2 separate regions of the Homo sapiens genome follow, and region 1 is linked to region 2. Evidence: promoter capture Hi-C in human tissues and cell types (Jung and others, 2019). All regions are on one chromosome and are shown on one strand. Each heading gives the region's core, a stretch centred on a gene start or on the middle of the fragment in contact. The rest is flanking DNA. Distances are from core to core; before and after follow the strand shown.

Region 1 (4,555 bases), core at 732-3,231, 120 kb after region 2:
CTATTACCAGTCTTACTGATCCAACAGAATGTCAAATACATGTGTATAGATTACCTGTCAGAGTCAATTCGGGCCAAAAACCTCATTAGTGTGAGGCTTAGCACTTTCTGGAATTATATCCCATTTTGTGTATCTTCACTTTCAGTAAGTGTTGTTGCCACGGATGTAAACACAAAAGCACATCTCCATTAAGCATCTTGTCTCTGGAATTCATATACTAACATCAAGCAGATAAAAGAATGTTGATGCTCAACTCTAAAGAGCAGAAACAGCAACATTTAGAGTCTTAGCTGCTCCCTGGCACAGGCACCAAAACTGTACCAGGAAAGTGGCTTCTCTCGGGAAGCAGTTTAACATGTCCCTTGGAAACCTGTCTGATGGCTTCAAGATCTTCACAGGAAGTCTTCTTAAAGAAGGGCCTGAAGTCTCTCTTCAACATCTACTTCTTCTAATCCCTATTTGAAGGTCCCCAACTACCTCAGACTGAGTAGGTTGAAAATTCAACTCATGAACAACACTCCTTTAGCCTGTTCCTCTTCCATTGTTCCAACAGAACAAGTCCAACCCTGATCTACTCCAGAAATCTTTCTAGATACCTGGAGATCATTCCATTGTATCCGCTCCCTTCTCCTCCCCCAACCCCATGTCTAATCCATTAAAGTACCATCTGCTGAAATTTGTCTTGAATTTACTCACTTCTCGATATTCACTGCCACCATATTGGTCTTGAAGACTTCATATTCTTCCACTTGGATTATTGCACGCTCTCTAAATTTGTCTCCACACCACTGCTCCCCCTTTCCCCTCCACATGTCCATTCTCTACCTGCAGCCAGAGTGGCTTTATAAAAAAATCTAGCCTAATCTTAACATTCTCTTGCTTAAAACTCTCCCACTGCCCTTCGGATAAAGCACAAAATCCCTAGGCCTCCTGGGCTCATATCATCTGACCTTCCCCAGCTCTCTAACACTTTGCACCAATATCCTAACTTACTACACATTCTTACAGGTTCTAGAAGGTAGCAGAGCCCTTCCCACCTTCAGACCTTTGCCCACGCTGTGTCCTCTGCCTATAATGTTGCCTTCCTGCTTCTGTCTCGCTAGTGCTTTCAGCCTTCTGGTTATTCTTCAGCCTGGACTTCTCCGATGCTTCCTGTGCCTGCCAGCAAGGTCATTTCCCCCATCATAGACCCTTATCATACCGTTTACCTTCTTCATAACATTTGCCACAGTTGTAATCGGTCAGGTATTTCCCTCCACTAGACTTTAGTGCTCTACAAGCAGGATATGTACAATTTGTATACCACTGTCCTTGGGGCCTGATAGCAGGAAGCCCAGATATTGTAGGTGCTCCCGTGTTAAACAAATAAAGGAAATCTGTCTTCCGAGCCTCTTGATTAGAGTTACTTTAGTATTTTGATTCATATACCACAAAGAAAGCTAAACCAGAAATGAAATTCTTTGTCCTGAGTCACACAGCGAGCCAGGACTTGCAGGGCTAGAGCCCACCCTGGACTCCTGTTGCTGTGTCCTGGGCATGTGGTTCACATCTCAACTTTTTTGTGACTTAGGAATAAAGTCCACCTGGAAGGTGCTAGAATGTGAGTGCATACCTTGCTCTAGCCTTCCTTTGTCCAGGACTCAAGACACCTACAGTTTAGGTCAGTTTCCTTTTGCTTGATGAAGTCTTCCTTTAGTCAATGAGTAGTGTTACTTTGGCTTTGGGTATGGTCTTACTTGTCAGCAGTTGGATGACTATTGCTAGGGTAAATGCACAACGTGTGGTAAAATACTGAGTGTCCACATCTGGACTGGGCCGCTGTTCATTCTCTCTTCTGAAAGCTGTCTCAGACCACATGTTACTGGCCATCTGTGAGAAGAGCAGGGAATGCCCAGAGGTTCGTCCCTTGAAAGCAGATCAGCTCCAGGGACCACCTCCAAGTACACCTGCAGTCTCATTTCCTTGACAAATACCAGCCTGGGAGCAAATTCCAGCCATGGATGTTGTTTCTCACCAAGTGGTGTTTTAAAACCCCTGATTAGTACTAATATTTAAAATCAAGATTATTATGTACAAGCTTGAGTTTCTGTGTTCTCCTGGGATGGAGAAGACCTGGCAAAACCAGCCCACAACTATCAGCTAGAGCTGAATTTTAAGAGAACCCCCTAAAACAAGATATTGTTGGTCCCTGCCTGGACTGCCATGGTTACCTTCCTGGCATTTGTAGGCACATGAGTTTGCAAACCCTGTAATATTTTTAAGTCATGGCAGGGGAAGGTGGGGTATATGCATGAAAGTTGTAATTGACTTAGCCAGGCATGGTGCTGCACGCCTGTAATCCTAGCTACTTGGGAGGCTAAGGAAGGAGAATCCCTTGAACCCGGGAGGTGGAGGTTGCAGTGAGCCAAGATTGCTCCATGGCACTCTAGCCTGGGCGACGGGAGCGAGACTCCATCTCAAATAAATAAATAAATAAGTTGTAATTGACATTCTGTATAATTATTTTTTTTTCTTTGTCCCTCCTTCCTTCTTTTTCTTTATCTTCTACTGTCCCCTCCTCTCTCCACTGCTTCTACCACTTTACAGGTTCTGGGGCTGCTGGTATGGACGCTTATTGCTGGAACTGAGTACTTCCGGGTCCCCGCATTTGGCTGGGTCATGTTTGTAGCTGTATTTTACTGGGTCCTCACCGTCTTCTTCCTCATTATCTACATAACAATGACCTACACCAGGATTCCCCAGGTGCCCTGGACAACAGTGGTAAGGAAGCTGTGGGTGGTGGTCTTGTCCAGTGCCCACTCGGTAGATGGCATTAGTCCTCTACTAGTCAATCCAAGACTGTCTCTCTGCCCAGAAAAGGTGGGGCCATACCATGGAGAACTCAACACAGCAGATAATCTCAGCATCATCTAATTGCCTTTCAAGTGGCTTACACCTGGGTGTGAAACTGGGCACATTAGAAGGTCCAGAAATTCCTTTCAGGCAGAATTGCAAACCAATTCTCAGAAGACTGAATCAAGAAAAGCCAGGTTCTCTCCATTAGATTCTCATTTTATTATTTCCCTGTGAACAATGTCAACTGGAAATAAATATGCCAGGGCGCCAACCTCTGCAGATCGTGCTTCCTATAAACCTCTCCTGGGGCTGTGGCCTTAACCCTTTGTACATCACAGCTCTTATGATGTTGGAGCACATTGTGTATGGAGTTAGAATGCAAATGAAAATTGCTATTAGAAAACATAGGTGTTCTTATATATTTGAAAAGGAGAATTGTCAGGAATGACTGGATTCTCATCCTGGCTCTGGCACCATGCTGGATGCAGGATGGTGAACATGTGGTCCAGGGTAAATAGATAAGAAAATGAGTAGATACGAGACCCTGTGGCATACACTGCAGTGAAGCTGTGTAGAAAGTGTGATGGAGGCTGCCACCTCAGCTTAGGATGGCTGGGAACTCTTCAGAGAGGAAGTGACATTTAGCTTCATCCTGGAGATCGAACACACACATCCTAAGTGGATTCACAGAGATGGAAAGTGGGTTCCCCTTGCCTTAAGAGCATTGACAATCTGGTTGGCAAATTCAAAGTAGCTAAATGATTTACAAAAAAAATCCCAGTGGTACCACATGTGTTTATGTATAAAACAGAGCTCTCCAGTGATACTATTTTTTTGTCTGTTTTCAACCAATATGTGAGAAAAAATATTTAGTTCCAAATAACTGACTTATGAACCAAATTTGAAATATAGTCTATTTGTGGTTATAGACTAAGTTAAGTTGGCACACTTTCAGACAACACTATCATTGTTCAAAACGCACCTGGCTTTGTTCTTTCTGTGTTGCTAAGCTAAGTCCCCCAGGAAAACAAGTCTTACTTTATTTCACAAGGCAGATTGACTGACTCTTGACCATTTCCCCAAATCCAAAAGTAAGGACTCTTTATTAAGATTTTCAAGAAAGCGTTGCAAGTTTGAAAAGTAATTCCAAATAAGGTGCTTAATCACTGTCTAGGGTGGTGGAAACAGCCTTGTTAGAATTGGTGTTTTGCTGCCTCAGATGGGCATCAGGAGGGAAAGACTCGCTTAGATGCTAGATTCAAAAAAAGTTAGCACCTTGAAGTAATAGTAACTATAGGAACACAGGATGAGGGAATAATCAAAGTAGGTTGGAATTTAAGGAATGCCATTTTGGACAAAGTTGTGTCCTAGGGTGGGTCTTGAAGAAAGTGACTGTGAACTTGGAAGAAGAGGAACTTGGACAGTGTAGTAGGGGAGCAAATTGTTGGGATGGAGGAATGGACAGTACCCTTATTTCCCCTTTTGCATGAGTCTCAATTTCTAGTTATGTTATCTAGATCAGCAATTGGCATGCTGTCTCTGTAAAGGACCAGATAGTAAGTACTGTAGTCGTCTTGGGCCACACGCCTACGGCCCAGCCACTCAACTCTGCCTGCAGCATTGAGAGAAGCCATAGGCAATTTGTAAATGAATGAGCATGGCTGTGTTCCAGTAAAACTTTATTTACAAAAACTGGTGGTGGCCGGGCATGGTGGCTCAC
Region 2 (4,533 bases), core at 1,141-3,640:
CTGCGTGACTCTGGCTGGCCTTGTCATTCATTGGCTTAGACCAATAGAATGTGGTGGAAATGAGTCCGTGTAACCTTCAGGGCTGGGCCTTAAGAGATCTGCTTCTGCATTTGCCCCTCTTAGAAAGTCTCTTCCAGTAGCCAGCTGCCAGGTAGAAGTCCAACCACCATGAGCTTATCATACTGTTAGAAAGCCCAAGTTGAAAGGGCACTGAAATGCTCAAATGGGAATGAAGACTTTTTGGACTTTCTGGCCCTGCCAAGTCACCAACTGAAAGCAGCTGAGTAAATGACTCCAATCACACCATGCAAAGCAGAAGAACCTGCCAGCCAAGCCCTTCCCAAATTCCTGACACAACAGATTTCTGAGCAAATAAAATGGTGATTTTAAGCCACTAATATTTTGTGAACATTTATTACATTGCAGTAGATAATCCAAGCATACACTTATGTCATTCATGATTTCCCTTGCAGAAAATTAGTATATTAGAGTGTCACCCCAGACCTTACCAAAGGTATTATGTAATATATGGTACATGCACATTTTACCTTTCTAAATTGAAAAACAAAATCTGAATTTAGAAATTCATCTGACCCCAGGAATTTTAAGAGAGGATTGTCCTTTGTTAATATTATGGAAATAAAGTTGTCTAGACTCCGTCTTTTACGTTCACTAAATGTCATGCATAATGCTTGAGTCTCCTCCAGCCATTTCATGTATGTATCTCTTATTTCCCCAAACTCATTAACAGTTTCTCTAAAGCAGCAGCTAACTTCAGCATGCATCAGTGTCTTTTGGAGGGCTTGTTCAAACACAGCTTCCTGGCTCCACCCTCAGAGTTTCTGATTCAGAGGGTCTGGGGGTGGGGCTTGAGACCTTGCATTTTTGATAAGTTCCCAGGGAACTTACCTGCTGTTGGTCCAAGGACCACTTTGAGAACTACTGCTCCAGGGAGAAGTGCTATATTTTAAATTTTAAGAATTTACCCACCAGCCCAAGGTGCTTACCAAATGCACATGGATGGAATCTCTCCAAATCTACATCTTTGCCATGCTTTTGAAGCCTTAACTTTTACTCCTGGAGGTCTTCCTGGCTAGGCCCTAGACTTAAAAGACACTAATTCCTTGTTTTATTTTATTAGATTGTCGTTTTTGCTTTCTTCTCAGCACACTTGATAAGACACTGTGAAGAAAATGTCCCTTCTGATCTCGTTTTTAACCTGTCTTGGAACAGATCAGCAGAAATGCCTTCACTGTGAATCAAAGATACCCTCGATTTATAGCCAAAGATTATTTCCTTTTCTTTTGGTGGCTTCCAGATAAAATGTTTCTTGCTACCCTTTCACAAAATAGAAGGAGGGACCAAGCGGAAGATAATCTTTTTGTTCAGAGGTCCATCTGTCAAAGCCTGCATTTTAGAGATGGCATTACTGAGGTCCAAAAACTAGAGCCACTCGCTCTGGGTCATACAGCCGATAAACGCACGCAGCCGAGCTCAGTTCTTCCCTGACCCTGTTACAAACTGCCTCACTAAATGAGGACCCCCATCCCCTTCCCATGCCAGGAAAGCACAGCTCATTTGTCCTAAAGTTAACATTACACAAATCACACCCTTCAAGCCTTCTTGAAACATTTTTTTTCCCCGAGGGTGACGGGACGGTTACGCTGATTCATCCTGGCCAGGGACCCCAAACATCTCCCCTCCTCCGGCCCAGGCGCCGTCACCCAGGCTCCACCGGTCCGCGGGACAGAGCCGCGGAGAGCGCCTGGAAGCGTCGCGCCCTCAAAGCCAAGCGATTAAGTTGGTTCCTCAAATTGTTCCCGACAGGAGGGGCAGGAAATAACACCGGGCTCTGGCGGCGGCCGCAGCAGGAGGGGGAGAAGAGCGGGCCGTCTCCCGGGCAGTGCTGGCGGCCTCTCATCGATCTCGGGTCTAAGGTCCGGCCGGGTCATCATTCCTGCCATTTCCACAGCATTCGAGGTACCACATCACCCCCTGCCTCGGTCGTCGCTCAGTCATTCCCTCCGCGCCGAGTCCTGGAGCGGCGGAGTCCCTGGAGGCCTGGGTTTCCTTAAGGGGCCCCAATGCCCGCAGCCCCCGACCCGCCCAGGTGGAAGGAAACAGGCTGCGGGCCTGGGCCAGGCGGGGCCTGACAGAAGTAAAGGCCGGGAGGGGGAGCGGAAGACGGCCAGAAGGACCCCTGCGCCCTCTCCTCCGCGCCGCCCGCCAGGCTGCCAACCCAGCCACCCTGGGTGCGACGCGGCGCCTTCTCCGCCGCTGGGAGTCGGGCAACAGGTGAAGAGGGCGGGCGTCCGCGGCGCCTCCGCGGGGCGGTCCCTCTCCTGCCCGCCTCCCGCCCGCCCCTCTCCCCGCCCCCTCCCCTCCTCCGGGCCTCCACCGCCTTCCCCGGCTGCCCGGCAGCCTCCCCTCGCTCGCTCTCCTCTTCCTCTAGGGCCCCAGCGCAGCTCGGGAGCCCGCGCACCGAGGCGCTAGGGGCACCGCGCACTAGAGGGACACCCGCCGCGCCTGGACAGCCCCCGGCGGGCGCCCCCCTCGCACCTCCTGCCCCGCGCGGGCCGCGCTCCCCTCCCCCGCGCCTGTGTCCCCAGGGCGCAGGGCCGCGCGTCCAGCCCCAGACCCGCCGGGGTCCCTGGGGACGCGCCAGCCCGGCAGTGGCTCGACGATGGAGGAGCCGCAGCGCGCCCGCTCGCACACAGTCACCACCACCGCCAGCTCCTTCGCAGAGAACTTCTCCACCAGCAGCAGCAGCTTCGCCTACGACCGGGAGTTCCTCCGCACCCTGCCCGGCTTCCTCATCGTGGCCGAGATCGTGAGTGCCGACGGGCCGGGGGTGGCGGGGGGCTCAGCTGGACCCCGGCGCGTGCTTCCGCCGTGCTTCTCGGGATGGAGCCTGCTCAGATCTTCCCGCGGGCTTTAGGGAACCGTTTTTGCTCAGCCTCGCCTTCTTCCCAAAGTGAAAGACTCTAAACAAGGTCCAGGAAACTCGGGCTGTCCTGGGAAGAAAGGGTTGTGATCCTCAGGATGTCTTGCTGTGGGAGAAATTCAGCTTGTTGGGTCCTCTCGGTGGCGGCGGCAGATCCTGGGAGCAGGAAGCTTGGCTTAGTGGCTATTGAGTTTGTGTTGAGTGTCAGAGACACCTGGTGCCTTTCTCACCTGATCTCCACGTGGATGGCCTCCTCCCTGAAAATAAAGCTTCCTAAGATCAGGGGAAGAGGAAAGGGCTTCTTTCTTTTCCTAATTATCTCCCTGGTAGTAACATTGAGGTGAGTCAGGAAAATTTTACTGAATAAAATCTGAGTGCCATAACCTATTTTAGGACCAAAGAGGTCTTTTGCATGGTGCTGTGCACATCCTGGTTTAGGCTCAGAACATTCCTGGGAAGGAGGCAGGGCATGGGCGTTCTTCTCTTCATTGGAGGGCATAGAGGCTGAAAACTCACGTGATCTTCCCAGAAGTCCCAGCCAGTCCTTCATAGCTGAGAAAGGACTGGAGTCCTGTCAGCAGTTAGAGGTGGTCACTGTTTGAGTCTTCTTCGTGTACCAGGATCTTGTCAAGCCCTTTAGATGTCCTCATACCCTCGTGTAATCCAACGACCACCCTCCCCTGTGAAGGCCTAGAGAGGGGACGTAAATCACACCGGTGGATGGTGAAGCATGGATTCAAACCCAGGCCTGCCTTTCTGCAGGGCCGTGCTCATAACTGCAAGCAGTTGAGACAGCTTCCAGCTGCCCCAGCAGTGCCCCTCTGTCATCTCTCACAGACTTTTGTTAAATATTTGGGAATTGAAAATGAGCCTATGTGGGAGTTAGAGAATGGGCACACCATCATGGTGCAGAAGTGACTGAAGACCTGGGCGGTTCCTTTGAGAAACCTGAAGTAAATCTTGTGTACCTCAAGTAGCTTGCTTGCTCCCCCAGTCTCAGATACCACCCGGACCTGCTCTATGAAGCCCCTGGTGGTCATAATGCACATAAGGTATGAGAAGTGTTGGCTTAGCTCCTCTCCCAGCTGGTTCCCTCAGCGAGTATTGAGGACTTCAGGAGACTCAAAAGCTGAAGGTATTGGAATCGCCTTGCAGGGCCTAGCTTTTAGGAGTTCAACAAATATTTGCTGTGCAAATGAAGGAGTTGGCAGGCTCCTCTGCTTCAGCAGCGCAAACAAAAGCTAAAATGACAGAGATGGGCCTTCTACCTTGGGGTGGATTTGGGCCAGGCATGAAGTATAACGCCTTTGGGTTTTTTTCTGATTTATTATCGATATGCTCTGTGTACTGCGCTTTTTCAGGAAATACAAAAGTGAAAGAAATGTAAGTGGCCCACAATCCCATTACTAGAAATAATCACTGTTGACATGTTAGCATGTATCCTTTTAGATTTCATTAAGCGTTTTGAAAAAGATGGGAAAACATGTAAGCAAAATCACCCTTATTACTACTATAGTTTTTATTTTTGACAGAGCTAATTATGCACCTTTTTTGTTTGTTTTGTTTTGTTTTGAGACAGGGTTTTGCTC

What was found. Contacts are between HindIII fragments. The study calls those that stand out against the background at their distance.
Region 1: a fragment that was not itself captured here is called in contact with the fragment with the promoter of CMTM8 in region 2 in 4 of the 25 tissues and cell types used here (H1 embryonic stem cells, adrenal gland, bladder and 1 more).

Annotation. Positions count from the first base shown.
Region 1 is chr3:32,354,787-32,359,341 of GRCh38, forward strand. It overlaps CMTM8 (CKLF like MARVEL transmembrane domain containing 8), which reads left to right. Exons shown (of 4, transcript NM_178868.5): 2 at 2,587-2,760. Among named protein-coding and RNA genes, the nearest start is that of CMTM7, 35 kb to the right of the region's middle. RefSeq lists an enhancer at 4,111-4,555. The HindIII fragment of the contact is 9,259 bases long and covers 1-4,555 here.
Region 2 is chr3:32,236,290-32,240,822 of GRCh38, forward strand. CMTM8 (CKLF like MARVEL transmembrane domain containing 8) reads left to right here and starts at 2,391. Exons shown (of 4, transcript NM_178868.5): 1 at 2,391-2,830. The coding sequence starts at 2,684. RefSeq lists a silencer at 2,195-2,404. The HindIII fragment of the contact is 9,285 bases long and covers 1-4,533 here.